3 separate regions of the Homo sapiens genome follow, and regions 2 and 3 are each linked to region 1. Evidence: promoter capture Hi-C in 16 types of primary human blood cells and fetal thymus (Javierre and others, 2016). All regions are on one chromosome and are shown on one strand. The core of a region is centred on a gene start or on the middle of the fragment in contact, and the rest is flanking DNA. Distances in the headings are between cores, read along the strand shown. Region 1 holds the start of JDP2 (Jun dimerization protein 2). Region 2 has its middle 39 kb from the start of FOS. Region 3 overlaps ERG28 (ergosterol biosynthesis 28 homolog).

Region 1 (3,230 bases), core at 384-2,883:
GTTAAACTCTCCCCTAGAAACCTGCAAAGGAAGATAAGCTATCCATCCAAGCTGCAGCCAGATTTGCTGGAAAGGTAAAAGCAATGGGAAGTGTTTTTTAAAACCCTCAGGGAAGGAAGGTTGGGGGGAAGGGAGATGATACGCGAATGCAGTTTCTACCAAGGGCTTAAAGGACGTTTGGGTACAAATGTACCCAAACATGGTTCAAAGCTTCCCAATTCCTGATGCTCCTCCAATTAAGACCCTAGGGAGAGACCACCAAGATTTAAGCCTGGGTACACACGCCTAAGCAGGCTGCAAGCCCTTTCTGAGATATAGACCTGAGCACATTTGCCCTGAGCACACGTGGTCGGGCCATAGCCCCATGCCCTGGATTCCAACAGGGAGGGCAGCACCCTGGGCAAGGGCCACGCCATCTTGCAACTGGAGATGACCCAAGGGGGTCGGCTGATTTCTCCTTCCACCAGCCTCTCCATCCCTGCAAAAGAGCCAGGACCTCCCCATCTTCCCCAGCCTCCTCATCTTCCCTGCTCCTCCTACTGACCCAGGCAAAGCCTGGCTCTGCCATCCCAGGGTCCAGGGATCCAGGTGGAAGGCCCAATCCACCCCTACACTCTCCCACCCCCCACTGCACCCCTACCCCTCGACAACCTCCTTTGAAGGGAGGAGCAGAGGAGAGCCTTCTAAGCTGGGCTGGGCAAGGGAGAGGCTGGTTACCTACAGGAGCCTGCTTGCCTCCTTATATAACCTGGCGTGGGAGACAGGAGAGCCCAAAGGGGACCCCGGCCACCCCTAGATCCCCTCCCAGCCCAGAGCTCCGAAGCAATGGCCATGAGAGAAGCTGCCTTCATTGGATGGAAATCCCGAGCCCTTCTCAATACTCTCCTCCGGGTCCGGGTCCTCCGGGAGTCGCGCTTCCTCACTGCCAGGAGGTCCTTGTCATCCCTCCACAATCTAACCCCGACCCCAACCCCGCACCTCCCTGGCCCTTCACCCTCCACCTCCACCCGCACAGCCCATCTCCGCGGGCACTTTTCTCCCCACTCACCCCGCCTTCCCCGCCGCCCGAGGAGAGCACCTCCCTGCAAACGGACGGGGGAGGAGAGCGCGGGAGGGAGAAGGAGGGAGCACCCCGGCTGTCCAGGGAGCGGACGGAGCCTCCCGTCCCGGGGCGGGAACCAAAAGGAAGCCTCAGGCTGCCGGGCGCCTCGCGGGAGGGGCCCGGCTGCAGCGCCCGGCGCGGGGAAAGCTCGAGGTCCCTGGGCTGCGGGAGCCTCCCCGCGGGGCTGGGCTGGGGCTCCTCGCGCTCCGCCCGTGCGGGGGCGGCCGTCCCAGGTGCCCGCGCCGCGCCCTGCCCCGCCCCGCCCGTCCCGGCGCCCCCAGCGCGCGCCCTCGCACCCACCGTGCAGAAGGTGCGGGGGGAGGCGGCGCCCCCGGGGCCGGGGCCCGGCTGCAGGCGCCGTGCCCGCTCCGCGCCGCTGCCGCCCGGCCGCGGAGCTCCGCCCGGTGCCCAGGCCTGTCCCGGCCCGGGAGCCGCCGCGGCGCCAGCCCCGCCGCCGCTGCAGCGTCCGCCGCCGCCAGCGCCCCCCGTCGCGGCCGCCGAGCGTCCCTCCCGCAGGCTGTGGCGGGCGGCGGGACGGGTTGCATCAGCCCCGGCTATATAGCGGCCCCTGGGCGGCGGGGAGGGGTCGGGAATGCGGAACCGGCCGAGCTGCCAGCTCCAGACGTCAGAGGGGGACGGAGAGGAAGGGAAGGAGGGGACCGGGGAGGAGGGGGTGTGGAGCCGGCGCTTCACACCCACTGACCTTAACCTCCCCCGCCGCCTTGGGCGCCCTCCTCCCGCGGCCGCTCGCGCTCCTCTCCCCGCGGGGGCGTCCCGGGTTCCATGCAGTCCCCCGGCTCCGCCACCCCACGGTGCAGGAGCGCTCGAGAAAGCAGGACGCGGCGAGCGGTTATGTAAGCGCACCCCCCGCGCACCGCCGCCCGGCTTGTGCCCGCCAGGCAGCAGCAGCCGCAGCCCTAGGAGAGAGACGCGAGAGGCCGGAGCCGGGGGAAAAGTCAAAAGCCCCTTCACGCACAGCCTGTGTTAACCATGTACCTCAGTCCCGGCGCTTCCCCCACAAACTGAGAGCGACAGGGAGAATTTCCGCACAGTTTCATCCTTGGACACTTCAGGACTGAGCGGGTGAGGAGGCGATCTCGCCAGCCTGCTTTATTTTTCGGTGGAGAAGGATGGGCTGAGATGAAGGCATTTGGGGACTCCTACCCCTACCCACCGGCCCCCGCCAGCGCCCTTAGGCCCCGAGACGGCTGGCTGCACCAGCCTGACCTCTGCTAGGGCTGCAGCCTGAGACCGCGGCTTGCTCTACTGCTGGCGCAGTTTGACCCTTGGGCTTGTACCCTGCTCCAGCGGGCTTCTCCTTTCCACTCCGGACACAGCAGTGAGCAGACCCAGCCCTCAGCAGACCCCAAGTGGCCTTCTTCCCCGTTCCAGCTTCAATAGCCAACCCCACTCCCACCTTCCATCCTTCTAGAGAGGAAATGGTGAAGGGGACTCCAGAGGGAAGGCGACATCCATGGTGCCCTCCAGTATACAAAGGCAGAGACACAGAGCCCTCAGGTAGAACGGGGTTCCCTAGATGGCATCTCCTACCTCCAGAGCTCCTGGGTACCCATCGAGCCCCCTACCTTCTGCCTAAGCCAGATAGGAGTGACGATTTTTATACTCAGCGACTTTCGGCCTCCTTCTGAGAGTGATGTCAGGTCATCACCCATAGAAGAAAGGAAGTGAAAGAAAAAGTTCATGCCTTCTTGGAGTGCAGATGCTCAGAGTGAAAGAAACAACAAGACTTGAGACAGATGGGTGCCATTGAGCAAACCCGAACATGCATGTCTCTCTCATGTGAGTGAGTGCATGAGACTTTATTCTCCTTATTTCCCCAGTGCAGTGAAATCTTTCTGGATAAAAGAAGTGGGCTAATGGAAGGAGAGACAGACCAAGTCCCAATGACATTGCCTGACCATTTTCACCTTCGCCATCAGCAGTCTCCCTCACAGCATTGGTGTGGGCAGGTAAGAAGAAAGCAAGGCCCTGAAAGAATATACATTGGAAAATGAGCAGTAATTTGATACTCTTGTGGAAGAGCATGACTCTTCGCCCCAGAAAGGCCAATGACACCTTTACTACAGCGTAAAGATCAAAGCCAGGGACTGTGAAACTGCCTCATGAT
Region 2 (3,478 bases), core at 129-2,628, 190 kb after region 1:
TGCCTTCAGAGTATAGAAAAGCTAGGTCCGACGACGCGCGGTGGTTCACGCCTGTAATCCCAGCACTTTGGGAGGCCAAGGCAGGTGGATCACGAGGCCAGGAGATTGAGACCATCCTGGCTAACACAGTGAAACCCCGTCTCTACTAAAAATACAAAAAAATTAGCTGGGTGTGGTGGCAGGCGCCTGTAGTTCCAGCTACTCGGGAGGCTGAGGTAGGAGAATGGCGTGAACCTGGGAGGCGGAGCTTGCAGTGAGCCGATGGTGCCACTGAACTCCAGCCTGGGCGACAGAGCGAGACTCCGTCTCAAAAAAAAAGGAAAGCTAGGTCCTACTTTAATAAAGCCTAATAAATGAAGATGTAAATATTAAAACAGATGAATTAAGTGGTGATTAACTGTCTTGTAAAAAATTGCTTTGTGTATATAGGCAGTATCAGGGATTTAATTAGTCTCTCTCCATGCATTTGAACCTGATTTATAGCATGAGGTCTCTTTTAATCCTATCTCCACTTCCTCAAAGATACTGATGTCAGCTACCACCAGAATTGCTGAGCTGAATTCCCTGACCCAAGGTGGCTCGGTTTAATTCAGTCAAGTATTAGGCATTCAGCCTGTTGAATCCTCTCCTGTGCCCAGATCCCTAAGGCCAGCCTCACCCAGGGTGTGGCCTGGGCAGAGAGGGCAACCCGCCCGTGGGATGGAGCTGCAAGGTTCTGATGGTCTTCGTAGAATCACAGCTGGCTTGGCAGTTTCTTGGCAGTTTCTTGACCAAGCGGGAGACATAGATGGAGGCATGTTGTCTTCCAGGAAGGACACGGAGGTCCATATAAAAATTCTCTACTCTTATCCCACAGATGCGTGGTGGCATGGGAGTGCGGAAAAGGCAGGCCCCGCCATAGATGGTGGGAAAACCGCTGGAAAGATGCTGATCCATGGTGGCTGATCACCATGGTGAGATGGGTACCATACTAATGGTTCCATCCTCAACAGTGCTACCTGCATGATACAACTGTGGGCAGGACAGGCCAGGTCTATTCTCTGCCCTTCTGTTTGAGGCTTTGGAGACAGACAACTGCAGGCCCACTGGTTTTACTCATGGTCAGACTTCCCAGGACCTGGCCTTTCCTCTTCAATGTCACTGTCATTTCCCACAAACCCTATCCCTCACAACATTTGAGAAAGCTTTAGTTCAAAAATGTGGCTTCTTCCCCTATTCATTCATTCGGCAAAAACTTATTGGGCAGGCTGAGCAGTAGGCCCAGTAAGGAAATGCAGTCTTGGCTGGGCGGGTGGCTCATGCCTGTAATCCCAGCACTTTGGGAGGCTGAGGCAAGGGATCACTTGAGGTCAGGAGTTTGAGACCAGCCTGGCCAACATGACAAAACCCCATCTCTACTAAAAATACAAAAAAAAAAAATGAAATGCAGTCTTGTCTTGTAGAACCCCAGGAAAGATTGCAGAGCATTCAAGCACTGCAGCAAGGGTGAGCAAAGATGGAGTAGAAAGGGACCTGATCCAGGTGTGGAGGAGTTAACACATCCTGCTTGAGTTGAGGCCTGAAAGAAGCTTTGGAATTTTTCAGGGGAAAAAAAGTGACAGGAAGGGCATTCTAGGCAGATGGAATGGTGCATGCTAACACACAGAGGATGGGAGAGTTCAGCACATTTAGCTTTAAGGTGCCAAGGACAGGATACCGTAGCTCATGCCCATAATCCCAGCAATTTGGGAGGGTGAGACGCATGGATCACTTGAGCCCAGGAGTTAAAGACCTGCCTGGGCAATATGGCAAAACCCCATCTCTACAAAAAAAAAAAAGTGGAAAAATTAGCCAGGCGTGGTGGCACATGCCTGTGGTCCCAGCTACTGGGGAAGCTAAAGTGGGAGGATGGGAGGATCCCTTGAACCCCGGAAGTCGAGGCTACAGTGAGTCGAGATCACGCACTGCATCCCAGCCTGGGTGACAGAGTGAGACATTGTATCCAAAAAAAAAAAAAAATGTGCCAAGGAGTGGAAGGAGGAGAGGGCTGGTGTGAAGGGTTGAGAGGATTGCAGTTTGAGCTGAGCCAGAGAAATAAGCAGGTCCCAGGTTGCAGAGGGCCTTGTCTACCTGGTAAAACATTTAGGTTTTCTCCAGAGAGAGAAATGAAGGGCCATGGAACAGGCTTACCCAGTGGGATCACAGGATTTGTGTTTTAGAAAGGACACAGACAGCATGATGGAGTGGCATTGGAAGGCAACAAGCAGACCACTAAAGAGCCAGAATGGTGAGCTCCTGCCCCCAGCCATGGTGGGGGGAGGACATGAGTAGCAAGATTCTGCCTAAATTAATTATTAATAAGCGACGCAGTGATTCATCTATACCTTCCCCATTCCTAGCTTCATTTCCCCATCCAGCCCCTAGGAGCCCTGACTTTGATTCTAGTCCGTTTCTGTTTCCTTCTTCCCTTAGCTGCCCTCTTCACTGGAATTCTCTAAGGTGCCTGTTCAGCCCTATGGAAACGGCTGCCAGATTCTTCTGTTTTCTTCATGGAAAGCTCCCAAGTTTTTCTCTCCAAAATCCCTTAGAAGTGCTTTGGCCAGTGGAAGAGAGGGGTCTTCAACGTCTTTCAAAGAACAGCTAAGAAATAGTGGCTCAGTGAAGTTGCTAGTTATGGGAACGCCACCTGCTGTGGGAGCTGCCAGTGACGGGAAGCCCAAATCAGCAAGATGAGCCCCAGCCGCAGGCCTCACATTCTGGCAGTCTCCACGAGCCAAGAGGTGTCCATGCCAAGTCCTCATTCCCATGGTGATGCCTTATGGGCTCCATCATGTTAGCCAGAATATACCCTGGGAGATTATACCTGGGAGACACGTAGCTCAACAAGTACGGAACATGTCTTCCCTGCTGGTATTGGGGGGACAGGATGAATATCTGTCTGATAAGCTCACTGAGATATGTTAGGCTTGTTCCCTGTGAATAATTTATATTTTGAGAAACCTAGTACTTTCAAATTCATACAATAATGAGCTGTGTTATATTAGGATTCTGTTGTATGTTCACCTATCAAAATTTATACCTTAAATACTCACACTCAATATGGGGAGATACAAAGATAATTTAGATATCATATATGATTAACTATAGAAAACACATATCTTTTTTTTTTTAAGAGACAGGGGTCTCACTATGTTGCCCAGGCTGGTGTCAAACTCCTGGGCTCATGCAATTCTCCTACCTCAGGTTCCCAACATGCTGGGATTACAGGTGTGGGTAACCATGCCTGGTCAGAAAACACATATCTTAACACAATACACGATAATCACAATAGCAGGAAACAAGTTTTGTTTTGTTTTGTTTTTTTAATCAGAAAGGCAACATTTCCAGGTGAAAATTTTCCTCAGTGATGTAGGAAATGCCATCTTCTGTCATCAGCCCATCTCTAAATTCTCACTCTCACATTTGTTCATGTAGCTGCTACTCCTAATTCCAGATGAAA
Region 3 (3,628 bases), core at 15-2,514, 230 kb before region 1:
AGCCCTTCTTCTACTAAAGAAGTAGAGTGGTATGCTCTTTTTAGAGTAGCCACCCACACATACCTTTCTCACATTCCTCCTTAAGAAGCAGGAATGAACAGAAATCACAATCCATGAAAAAAGAGGAACCCACAAGTAAACTGTTGTATGTGTATGCAGCATCAGCAGGTGAGGGTGAAAGAGAAGCTAGGGCTCCTGAATCTACCTGTCTTGGGTACTCAAACAGACCAGGGTGGAACAATTGCAGGCAATCAGAAGCCATAACCAGTGCTGGCCACTAGAGGGGGCTCGAGCTTTCTTCCCAGCGGGAGTCATCATCACACTCTAGGTGGAAACAGTTTGTTCAGGTCACCGAGGGAGGCTATCTGAATGCCAACTTCACATTAAAATGTTTTTCTGTCTTATCCAGGCTCTTGGCATCTGGGGAAAACAGGAGGCGATAATATTTATTGAGCCCCTCTTATTATGCTGAGCTTTTATCTACGTGATCTTGATTAAGTCTTTTCTTAGCAGCCCTGGAGGTCATGATTTTCATTCCTGATTTTGCACATCTAAATATTAGAGATACAGTTAGTTTAAAGAAAGACTGACTCAAGTGAGATTTGAAGCAGGGCTATTAGCCGTTTGATCTCTTCAACCTTATTTTTTTTTTTAATTTTTTTTCAAACTTGAACCTGCAGTTTACTTGTCCTAGAATGACACATACTTTTGGAAGCAGTGTGTTTAGTTCTGGGCCCAGTTCTGTTGGTAACTAGCTTTGCAGTAGCAAGTCCATTATTCACCTTCCTTGCACCTTGGCCTCTTCATCCATAAAATGAGAATAGATATCTGTTCTACCTCTCAGGGTGACTAAGAGGAAGGGAGGATTGAACAATCATTTTAAAGACCTGTACCACAATGAAGAATTGCTGATGAGTATGAGGGATATATCTTTTGATTGTTGTGCTTTTGAAGTGAGCGAAGACAACCCAGACTTATCTCTTTTTTTTTTTTTTTCTGAGACAGTCTTGCTCTGTCACCCAAGCTGGAGTACAGTGGCACAATCTCAGCTCCCTGCAACCTCCACCTCCGCCTCCTGGGTTTAAGCCATTCTCCTGCCTCAGCCTCCCCAGTAGCTGGGATTACAGGCGCGCACCACCATGCCCCTCTAATTTTTGTATTTTTAGTAGAGACAGGTTCTCACCATGTTGGCCAGGCTGGTCTCGAACTCCTGACCTCGTGATCCACCCACCTTGGCCTCCAAGGTGCTGGGATTACAGGCTTCAGCCACTGTGCCCGGCCTGACCCAGACTTATCTTTACCTCAGTTACCATTTACTTTCACCTCTCCCCACACAGGACAGCTGCAAACGCTGACTCCTGTTTCTAGACCTTTCTAGCCTAGGACTTTGATCGATGCACTTCTGATGTGCATTCTGATCCTATTCCCTCCCTAACTAGAGACTGAAAGTCAACACACATACATATTGTTTCCACAATGGGCCAGGCGCGGGTGGCTTCTGCCTGTAATCCCAGCACTTTGGGAGGCCAAGGTGGGCAGATCACTTGAGATCAGGAGTTTGAGACCAGCTTGGCCAACATGGCGAAACCCCATCTCTACTAAAAATACAAAAATTAGCTGGGCGTGGTGGTGTGCACCTGTAGTCCCAGCTACTCCAGGAGGCTGAGGCAGGAGAATCACTTGACCCAAGAGGCGGAGGTTGCAGTGAGCCAAGATTGTGCCACTGCACTCCAGCCTGAGAGACAGAGCAAGAGTCTGTCTCAAAAAAAAAAAAAAAAAAAAAAAAGGTGTAAAAATATGCACAGGAGAGATACAAATCAAATGTAAGATACCAGTTACTTGTGGGGATGAGGGAGAACAGACTTAGAGCAGGATAAGTATACACAGGATGATTTAACTCTTCTCTGTAAGTTTTTATTAGAAGAGTCTGAAACAAAATGTCAAGATGTTAAGATCTGAGGGAGCTGGGTGTTGGTTGCATTGGTGTTCATTATAGTGTTCAGTAATTTTTTTGTATGTTTGAAGTATTTCATAATTTTAAAAAATTTTATACTAAAAAGATATCAGCAAACAAAGTGGTCAGTCACCTAGTAGCCTGTCTCTTCTCTACCTTATAGTCAAAGCTGAAAGATAAGTTCTTTTCCCATGAGGTTGTCACCATGTCCTCAATGTGACTACTTTTCTAGGCTAAGGCACAAAGTAACCAACGTATATTGCAAGAGCATCTAAAAGCCCCAGAGGTGTCCTTGCTCCTTACTCCCCATGAGGCCGTTCGTTCTGTGGCATCCATCTTATAAACACCGACAAGTGCATGGCCAGATGCCTGCCAGGTGGGATTAGACTGCAGAGTCAACCAATTTGGATAAATAGAATATGTAAGCGTGCTGGATCCAAAGTTGTCTACACTGCCTGCGATTGTCATCATTCAGGCTCTGCTTTGCTATAGCTGAGTTCACCACTTTGCTGAGACCTGGACGTTCATTCTGGATGCCTGAACCATTCTCCTCTCAGTTTAGCAGTTGAAACCTTCAGTTTTGCCCTAGATGAGAATATCGTTGTGATCAAATAACCAGCTCTTCCTCAGGAACAAGTGTCCTTTCTTTTAAGTCTTAATGACATCCTGGGTTCTTATTTGTCTGTATGAAGTCTGATACTTTTCCTCTGTTCTGAACAAACAGTAACTTTGGTTCCCATTTCTGTCTGCTTCCTTATAGGCTCTATCACATCACACTCTGGACCTTCCTCCTTGCCCTGGGGCATTTCCTCTCTGAGTTGTTTGTCTATGGAACTGCAGCTCCCACGATTGGCGTCCTGGCACCCCTGATGGTGGCAAGTAAGCATCCAACCACCCTAGACCTCCTACAGGAGCTGTGCCAGCTCTAGAGCTAGTACAGAGGGTGGACACAGGAGAGAGAGAGAAGAAAGGTACCGTATGTATGTTAGTCACTAGTCTTTCCTCTGTATTTAAGGTTTCTCCATCCTGGGTATGCTGGTCGGGCTCCGGTATCTAGAAGTAGAACCAGTATCCAGACAGAAGAAGAGAAACTGAGGCCAGCATTATCACCTCCAGGACTTTCTCGTTTTCCACCTTGGCCATCTTCTTCCTTCGTCGTCTCTCCTCTTTAATTTCTTTTCTATTCCATCATCTGCCCTTTTATTCACTTTTAGCCTCTTTTTTTAATTTTTAAAATTTAAAGATATGCATACTGAAAAGTATATAACATGTACGTACAATTTAAAGAATAATTTTAAAGTGAATACTACGTAACTCCATCCAAGTCAAGAAATTGCCAGCTTCTCGGAAGCCCACTGTGTCTCCTTCCCCTACCTGCAACCTCTTCCAGGCTCCCTTTTCCAGCCTTCCCCTTTTTCCCTTTTATTTTCATGCCTTGATTTGACTTGTGTGGTGGGAACATGTGAACTATGAAACTTAAACCTGCTGCCCACCCAGAGCAGCTGTGACCAAGGGCTGCCTCAAGGGGTTGTCCACGCAGGTTGGGCTCCTCTCTGCTGCTGGACCCAAGACTCTGAACCTTCCAAGGGACAGGCAGTTCTTCTAAGAAGGGCTCCCCTGTGTGTGAGCAAGACCACAGCTCTCCTTCTATCTACAGATGCATGAGGGTTGGAA

Evidence for each region. The method cuts DNA at HindIII sites, captures the fragments that hold promoters and counts their contacts. A CHiCAGO score of 5 or more calls a contact.
Region 2: a contact is called between a fragment that was not itself captured here and the fragment with the promoter of JDP2 in region 1, in 1 of 17 cell types (monocytes). The highest score is 5.9, in monocytes.
Region 3: a contact is called between a fragment that was not itself captured here and the fragment with the promoter of JDP2 in region 1, in 1 of 17 cell types (activated CD4 T cells). The highest score is 5.4, in activated CD4 T cells.

The regions. Positions count from the first base shown.
Region 1 is chr14:75,426,425-75,429,654 of GRCh38, reverse strand. JDP2 (Jun dimerization protein 2) reads right to left here and starts at 1,633. Exons shown (of 4, transcript NM_001135048.2): 1 at 1,403-1,633. It overlaps JDP2-AS1 (JDP2 antisense RNA 1), which reads left to right and starts at 2,000. Exons shown (of 2, transcript NR_184172.1): 1 at 2,000-2,185; 2 at 2,944-3,230. RefSeq lists silencers at 985-1,154, 1,215-1,394, 1,645-1,914 and enhancers at 1,580-2,137, 2,105-2,164, 2,185-2,514, 2,765-2,864. The HindIII fragment of the contact is 6,934 bases long and covers 213-3,230 here.
Region 2 is chr14:75,238,163-75,241,640 of GRCh38, reverse strand. No RefSeq gene overlaps it. Among named protein-coding and RNA genes, the nearest start is that of FOS, 39 kb to the left of the region's middle. RefSeq lists an enhancer at 3,291-3,478. The HindIII fragment of the contact is 384 bases long and covers 1,187-1,570 here.
Region 3 is chr14:75,650,976-75,654,603 of GRCh38, reverse strand. It overlaps ERG28 (ergosterol biosynthesis 28 homolog), which reads left to right. Exons shown (of 5, transcript NM_007176.4): 4 at 2,715-2,833; 5 at 2,970-3,628. The coding sequence ends at 3,049. Among named protein-coding and RNA genes, the nearest start is that of ERG28, 8.1 kb to the left of the region's middle. The HindIII fragment of the contact is 7,207 bases long and covers 1-3,628 here.